3 separate regions of the Homo sapiens genome follow, and all the other regions are linked to region 3. Evidence: promoter capture Hi-C in 16 types of primary human blood cells and fetal thymus (Javierre and others, 2016). All regions are on one chromosome and are shown on one strand. The core of a region is centred on a gene start or on the middle of the fragment in contact, and the rest is flanking DNA. Distances in the headings are between cores, read along the strand shown.

Region 1 (2,741 bases), core at 11-2,510, 870 kb after region 3:
CTTGTGGACCGCTGTGCCTGTGTGCCCATACCTGTCAGGCTGATGACTGCTGCTGCTATTCCTTGTGGCTAAGCCAAGAATGGATGCAGATACATTTGGTGTTCTCACCATGTTCACAAAAGGCCATAGCTTTTTTTCATGTGGACTGTGAAGGCCTAGGAACGACTGTGTGTGCTGCTTTGAGAAAGTTAACCAGGTTCTGGGCCCAGCTCCAAGGAGACACTTCTGACTCATTGGAAAGGCAGAAGAGTGCAGGAGAGTGAGAAAGCCTGGATTTAGAAAGTGGACTCATCTGGGCTTAAATACCAGCTGTGCCACTTATGTCATTTGAGATCAGTCTTTTCATGTGTTAAACATCAGACATTGTTATTGTCTATCTTGTAGGCTTATAAAGATTATTAAATGAGGACATTTATGTAAAACTCCTAGCATAGAACCCAATACATGTTTGTTAGTTACCTTTCTCTGTGACCTCTTCACCCTAGAGCAGGGAGATGTTCCTCTGTTTCTCTGAGTGTACCATAGAATCTTGCCCTGTGTTCACTGTCCGAGTATAAAGCACTGCTTGGATCTAGATTTTCAGTTCCAATAACTTTTTTCACTTTCGCCAAGGTCTCTCTGTTAACCTGCTCTCTGCTACCCTCGTGTGGCCACCCTGACCCTTTGTCATTCCTGATCCTCTGCTCCCTCAGTGTGGTGACTTTGCTGTAATGCAGCCTCTCCCAGACTTCTTGGCAGACCCAACTCCCACCTCCTCCAAGTTTTAACACACACTTGAAACATTTTTCAGTTTAATTTTAGTCTTCTCTTCTCAGGTAGTGTTATCTCAGTTCTTCTAACCTTTTCTCACTTCTTTTTAATATTTACCGATCTGTCAAAGACTGCATGAATTCTTTCCTGCATGTTGAGAGTTTGGACCCAGTGAGGTCTCCTCAAGCTTCAGATCACATTATCTGTTTCCTTGCTCAACACCAAGTTCTCTTTCCCATGAATGACGAAAAAACAAGTTGACCCTTGAACAACATGGATTTGAACTGTGTGGATCCACTTATACATGGATTTTTTTTTCAATAAATACAGTTTGCCCTCTGTATCTCCAGGCTCCATATCTGCAACCAAACAATATTCTCCGGATGGGCAAACTGCAGATAGGGAGGGCAGACTTTTTCTATATGCCAGTTTCCTGGTTCTGCTGGTTCCGCTGTTTTCACAGGGTCAATTGTAGATCTTGAGTATGTGCAGATTTTGGTATCCTGTGGCAAGGGTGTGGGCGTCCTGCAGCCAATCCCCAGCAGATACTGAGGGATGACTGTATTGTCGTAGATTATTTAATCATAAAAAGCTCTATTTTTCCCCCTGCAAACTCAAATCTGTTTAAGTTAATAAGGAAAAGTATACCTATTCTTGCCTTGTTAAAGGGTAATGATGGATCTTGGATAGACCCAGAATGTTAGCACTTCAAAGTGAGGATGTGTAGACAAAGAATATAACTGCTTTATCCCTTTCCTAATTGCATGGCATCTCTAGCACAGGGAATGAAGGATTATTTAGGATAGAATCAGTATACTGGTTTGAAAAGCTTTGTGGATGAAAAATAAGGGAAATCAATTTGATGAGATGGCTAGTTTAAACCAAATTTGGGAGGTGGGATTTGAAAACTAGACACTGAAGAGCTTTATCTTTATCCCAATGTCAGTTGGAAAAAAAATTGTAGCAGGACGTTATGTTGTTGAATTGGTATTTAAATATTAATTCTAAGATTCATTGTGGTAAAGATGGTAATTTTTAATTTATAAATTTGATGCAATACTATGCTAAATTCCAATAAGATATTTTATGGAACTTGACTAGCCTATTCTAACATTCCCTTGGAAGATAAAGTCAAGAGTAAATAGCCATAATTTTTTAAACACATGGGGCTAAGGGGGAGGATGATTTTCTAGCTATCCTAAGCAACTTTAAAATTATAGCAATTAAAACATGAAATCTTGGCACAGGAATACATAAATAGAACCATGGAGCAGAAGAGAGAGTGTAGTTACAAACCAACTTGGAAATTTAGTGTATGAAGAGTGCTACCTTCATTATATACTACACTTCTAATCAGTGACTAGAGGGTTGTACTGTTTAAAGACATTAGAATAATTGGTTATCTGTTTGTCAGTTGGTATGGGATAGGTTTAGCCTTTCCTTATGCCATATACGACAATATATTTCAGGTGGACTTGTGCTAAATTTTATAAACCAAACAACACTAAAAATGTTTGCAAAAACTGTCGAAAAATATACTTAATCTTAGAGTGGGAAAGACCTTCCTAAGCAAGACACAACACCTAGAGTCGATAAAGGAAAGGACCGATAAGATTTACTGCATAATTTTTAAAACTGATATAATTGCAGACCCATAGACAAAATGTAAAAGTAAGTCACAGACTGGGAAGATTTTATTTGCAATATATATGCCAAAGTATCAAAATTGCTAACATGCAAAATAGTCAGCAAATAAACATAAAAAAGACAAACAGTCCAAGAGAAAATTGGGCAAAGGATATGAGTATGAATTCTCAGAAAAAAAATACAGTTGTCTAATAAACATTTGAAAAGATGATCAACGGCATTTGGATTTTGAGAAATACAAGTTATAGCACCAAAGAGATCCTAGACTGTTAAAAAGCATCAAAGAACCCATCAGATTGTTAAAAAATTAAAATGATGGATAATACTCAGTGTTGGCAAGTGCT
Region 2 (2,700 bases), core at 157-2,656, 850 kb after region 3:
AGCTTCCGAGATCAGACAAGAGCCGGTGCGTTCAGGACGGTATGGATGTACACTTGATACTTGCTTTCTATGCCTCTCATTTACTGGATTCCTCCATTATCTATTCTGATAACCCATTGTTATGTATTGTCTTTGCTAAGGTTGAGGGAAAAGGGTAAAAAAGCACCATGACAGGAAAGTTAGAGTTGGTTGTCATGCTCAGAGTGCTATTAAGAGGTACATGTTTATAAACTGGGTAGGATTCATTTTACATTCCACACTTATAGTGTATACAGTCAATCCTGCATATACATGGGTTCCACCTCCATAGATTCAATCAATTGCAGATTGAAAATATTTTTAAAAGCTGTGCCAGTACTAAACTTGTATAGACATTTTCCCCTGTCGTTATTGCCTAAACAATACAGTAAAACAACTATTTACATAGCATTTAGATTGTATATGGTATTATAAGTAATCTAGAGATAACGAAGTATACAGGAGAATGTGCATAGGTTATATGCAAATGCCACTCCATTTGATATCAAGGACTTGTGCATCTGCAGATTTTAGTATCTGTGGGAGGTCCTGGAACCAATCCTTCATGGATACCAAAGTACAACTGTATATTGTTATCATATAAGAGCAATACTATCTCAATCTAAAACAGAACTATATATAGTTGTATTTTTAATCTATGAATCCAGATATGACAAAACATTCAGTTCTTTTGAGGCCATTTGAGGTCACTGTAGGCCACAATTTCCTGAGCATCTTACAAAAACCTTCTAGCACTTCTTTTTTAACCTAAGAATTGCTTGCCCTTCTGTTCCCTTTCTGCAGTTGATCAGATGGCTGTGAGGACTTTCTAGATCTATATCTCAGAGTTTTGTCATGTGTTTGTGGTGGAACAGGTCGGGGAGCATAACCAAGAACCTGTGTGTTTGTGGTGGCAGGGAGGGAGATTTCAGCCCTGTTCTGGGGACTGCACTGTGGAGAATAAGGAGATTATGAAACTTGGAGGTAAAACAGGACCATGGAGAGCAACAAGAAAAGCCTGGAGTGTCACTGTCAGGGGCTAGCACCATGGAGAGCTCAAAGCACAGGTATAATAGTTTGCTCCATAAAGAACAGGGGAACTGGGATCACGGGGTAAGGCAGCCAGCTCTCAAGCACAGGAACTAAAAGAACAGACATCATGGCTTCTATTAGGATCACTCTACGCTCATCACTTGCTCTATAAGGCCTCCTGAAGTGCTTTATTTGAACCTGTCTGGTTGATACACAGTCAAGAGACTGTGCTGAAAAATGAGGACCACCACCAGACTCAGTTTGTCAACATGATCTTCTGTGATTATGTTAAATACCTAGATATTAGTGGTGATGGAGGGGCTTTTAATGTGCTACAACTTACCGTGAGTAAAATTAGGCCTATCTTCTAAAGAGGGAACAGAGAGCCTGTGCCCCCTCAGAGACAGTAGGATGCAAGAAAGTCAAAATATGTATTTTCGTCAGGTAGGGTATGAGACGTATCAGACTCAGAATGTCCCAATGTATCCAAAATTGCTGTAAGTAGTTCAGACAATCACACTAGAAGAGAGGTATGGAATCATGCCTCTTAAGAAGAGTATTGTTCTCAGGATTTAGAAGTTTCTCTGTTAGTTGAGGAATTTGATGACGGCCTTAAGGCTTAGGAAAATTTTGGTAAAGAAAGAAATGATTCTTTAGTAGTTGCTGCTTCAGTGAAGAATATGTACCTTTACTTCTTAGCATCTTAGCTTCTATTGTGTAAAAATCTCAACAGATTCATGCGTTCAAGCCTCTTGAGAGCTCGACTTCTCTGTACTAGAAGGGATGGATCTTCTTGTCATATATAACAGAATTGGACTGGGTTTTTACTTGGGTAGTTATTGGAGCCCTGGGCACCAGCTGGTTCTGACCTTGTAAAAAATCATCACTACTGCTGATCCCAGAGGCAGAAACAGGTCTCTAGCCCTGGAAACTTGTTCTTCTTCATTTTATGATGACCTGAAGTATTTATACTTAATCGGAGCAAGTTCTTAGAAACAGAATCTTTTTCTGATGGCTTGCTTCTCCAGGGTCCTTTTCTGATGGTTTGTTTCTCTCTGTCTTTTGTAAGCATTTCCATGGGGATTGCTATTCTCAGAGATTAAGGGTGGACCTCTAAAACAAGACCCCATACAGGAAACAAAATGTTCTAGTACATGGGCCTATAGTCAGTGTTAAACATGAAACATTACATTCTAACATGAAAAATAAAAGAAAATATAATTACCAAAACTTTATAATAACTTTGAATTTTTCACTCAGTAGTCAGTAAGTAGCTGGTCCAATCCACAGCTTGCTTTCAACAAGAATCTGGAACCTAGATCACCATCCTTAGGTAAAATTCCATTACTGAGAATTAGATGACAAAAAAGGGATTGTTGAGCCAGTATGCAGTTCCACTGGAGTAGGAAACAACAAAGAATAAGACTAGTCACAGCCCCAGGGGTTTTCTTTCTCTGGTGATATTTTTTCCTACCAAGTGATTTAAGGAAAATAAACTTTTGATCCTGTTTTACATATTATTTGGACTGCAAGAAAGTAGTAACATCAAGAAGTACCAAAATCAAATCTAAGAATTTACAGAGCAATGGCACAACCTCTCAGTTTGTTATTTCAAAGTAACCAGAACGCCAAAGCGATGCTGTCTCTGGA
Region 3 (2,700 bases), core at 100-2,599:
GTGCCTAAGACTACAATAAATTACACATAATTGAAAAAAATTAAGGATAAGATATAATTTCTACCCCCAAGAACCCTATAATCTCTTGTGAGGGCTATGAATACAATCTAAAATAAAGTATCAAATTCTACAATGCGGACTATGTAAGTGCACTAAGTAACCACGGAAAGGGAAGAGCTAATGGGTTACAGTCCTTGGCAAGAAATTCATGGAAGTAGGGTTGGAGTGGGGTGGGGGGAGCAGGGGACCTTGACATACATAAAGGATATTTAAAAGGGAAAATAACTGGGAGTTGGGAGCAATCCAAAGATGCCACTCTAGAAATATTCTGGTAGGAGGAACCTCTAAAATCAATTCAACTTTACTGAATGGCTACTAGTACTGTGTTAGATGTTGAGGTAGAGAAAAGAACAAGATAATCTCTGATACCGAAGAATTGAAAGTGTCCTGATGGAAAACTAGGAGAGCAAAACAAACAAAAACAGTTATTACAAAGCAGTGTGACAAATGCTGTAACAAAGGAATGACCAGGGAGTTCTGGAGCACTGGGAGAACTTTTAGTAGCATGGCAGGGTCTTCTGTGTGAGTGATTTTCTGGAACTTAGATCCCGTCCGCCCCAGTCTACCTATCCTCGGACAGGGGAGGGGACTGGCATCTAAGTCATTCATTCTGCGTGATGAGGAAGTGAGTGGGAGCTGGGAGCTAACACTTGCACTGATGCCTGAAGGGTTGAGTAGGTATTTGCCAGAGTGATTGGAGAGCGGATGGCAACTTTGACAGAAGAAATAGCAAATACAGAGATACTGAGGCATAAGGGGCTGACAAGTTAAGGAATTTTGTGACGCTTTCCTGTCTTCTTTCCCATCACCTTCACCTAGGGTTGCCGGATAAAATACAAGCTGCCCACTTAAATCTGAATCTCTGATTACCAACTAGTAATTTAAAAATATAAGTATGCCTCCAATATTGCATGGAACATACACACTCAGCCCCCTTCAACTCATCCTGTCCTGTCCGGGGCCCACAAATCCCCGGTGAATACCGGCGAGCTAGTGGAGTAAAGCATGAGAAGGCTTATCTTCCTTTCACTCCTACATTTTTCACTCTCGGATCTCCAGCCCAGGACTGAAGGATGTAGCGCGCAGCCCGCAGCTCGCTGCTCGTCGGAGGGTTTTCCTCTGAGGACTGGAAATGGGGCGCGGGAAGAGGGCGGGGGGCGGCGGGCTGTCACTTACAAAGAAATCTCACTCCACTCCATAAAATCCTCAAGCCAGTGCCGGATTTCCCGGCAAGCGGACGTCTCCCCTCCCACGGACCGGAAATCCCGCCTCCGCTGGAAGAAGAAGCGGAAGCGAGACCGTCCATCCAGAGGAAGGCAAGTTTTTGGCTCGGGCGGCTGAGAAGACCGCGCGGGGCTGGAGACAGGTAGCAGTACGGGGGCGGGGCTTCATGCCGGATGTGATAGTCTGCAGTCGTTTCGGTTGGCAGCCTGGCGGGTGGGAGATGCGGCGGCCACCTGCTGCAAAGAACCGAAGGGAAGGTTAGAAGTACGAAGGCAGTTTGGAGCTGGGGCTAAGCAGCTGTCGCACGGTCAGATCATGGGCTCCACCAAGCACTGGGGCGAATGGCTCCTGAACTTGAAGGTGGCTCCAGCCGGCGTCTTTGGTGTGGCCTTTCTAGCCAGAGTCGCCCTGGTTTTCTATGGCGTCTTCCAGGACCGGACCCTGCACGTGAGGTATACGGACATCGACTACCAGGTCTTCACCGACGCCGCGCGCTTCGTCACGGAGGGGCGCTCGCCTTACCTGAGAGCCACGTACCGTTACACCCCGCTGCTGGGTTGGCTCCTCACTCCCAACATCTACCTCAGCGAGCTCTTTGGAAAGTTTCTCTTCATCAGCTGCGACCTCCTCACCGCTTTCCTCTTATACCGCCTGCTGCTGCTGAAGGGGCTGGGGCGCCGCCAGGCTTGTGGCTACTGTGTCTTTTGGCTTCTTAACCCCCTGCCTATGGCAGTATCCAGCCGCGGTAATGCGGACTCTATTGTCGCCTCCCTGGTCCTGATGGTCCTCTACTTGATAAAGAAAAGACTCGTCGCGTGTGCAGCTGTATTCTATGGTTTCGCGGTGCATATGAAGATATATCCAGTGACTTACATCCTTCCCATAACCCTCCACCTGCTTCCAGATCGCGACAATGACAAAAGCCTCCGTCAATTCCGGTACACTTTCCAGGCTTGTTTGTACGAGCTCCTGAAAAGGCTGTGTAATCGGGCTGTGCTGCTGTTTGTAGCAGTTGCTGGACTCACGTTTTTTGCCCTGAGCTTTGGTTTTTACTATGAGTACGGCTGGGAATTTTTGGAACACACCTACTTTTATCACCTGACTAGGCGGGATATCCGTCACAACTTTTCTCCGTACTTCTACATGCTGTATTTGACTGCAGAGAGCAAGTGGAGTTTTTCCCTGGGAATTGCTGCATTCCTGCCACAGCTCATCTTGCTTTCAGCTGTGTCTTTCGCCTATTACAGAGACCTCGTTTTTTGTTGTTTTCTTCATACGTCCATTTTTGTGACTTTTAACAAAGTCTGCACCTCCCAGTACTTTCTTTGGTACCTCTGCTTACTGCCTCTTGTGATGCCACTAGTCAGAATGCCTTGGAAAAGAGCTGTAGTTCTCCTAATGTTATGGTTTATAGGG

Evidence for each region. Contacts are between HindIII fragments. The CHiCAGO score rates a contact against its expected background, and 5 or more counts as called.
Region 1: a contact is called between a fragment that was not itself captured here and the fragment with the promoter of PIGM in region 3, in 1 of 17 cell types (endothelial precursors). The highest score is 7.8, in endothelial precursors.
Region 2: a fragment that was not itself captured here is called in contact with the fragment with the promoter of PIGM in region 3 in 2 of 17 cell types (megakaryocytes and M2 macrophages); the score reaches 7.0 in megakaryocytes.

Annotation. Positions count from the first base shown.
Region 1 is chr1:159,159,110-159,161,850 of GRCh38, reverse strand. No RefSeq gene overlaps it. Among named protein-coding and RNA genes, the nearest start is that of CADM3, 11 kb to the left of the region's middle. The HindIII fragment of the contact is 642 bases long and covers 940-1,581 here.
Region 2 is chr1:159,175,826-159,178,525 of GRCh38, reverse strand. The region is part of intron 1 of CADM3 (cell adhesion molecule 3); the gene reads right to left. It also overlaps the pseudogene RNA5SP60. Among named protein-coding and RNA genes, the nearest start is that of CADM3, 5.6 kb to the right of the region's middle. The HindIII fragment of the contact is 3,418 bases long and covers 1-2,700 here.
Region 3 is chr1:160,030,639-160,033,338 of GRCh38, reverse strand. It overlaps PIGM (phosphatidylinositol glycan anchor biosynthesis class M), which reads left to right and starts at 1,349. Exons shown (of 1, transcript NM_145167.3): 1 at 1,349-2,700. The coding sequence starts at 1,600. The HindIII fragment of the contact is 5,226 bases long and covers 1-2,700 here.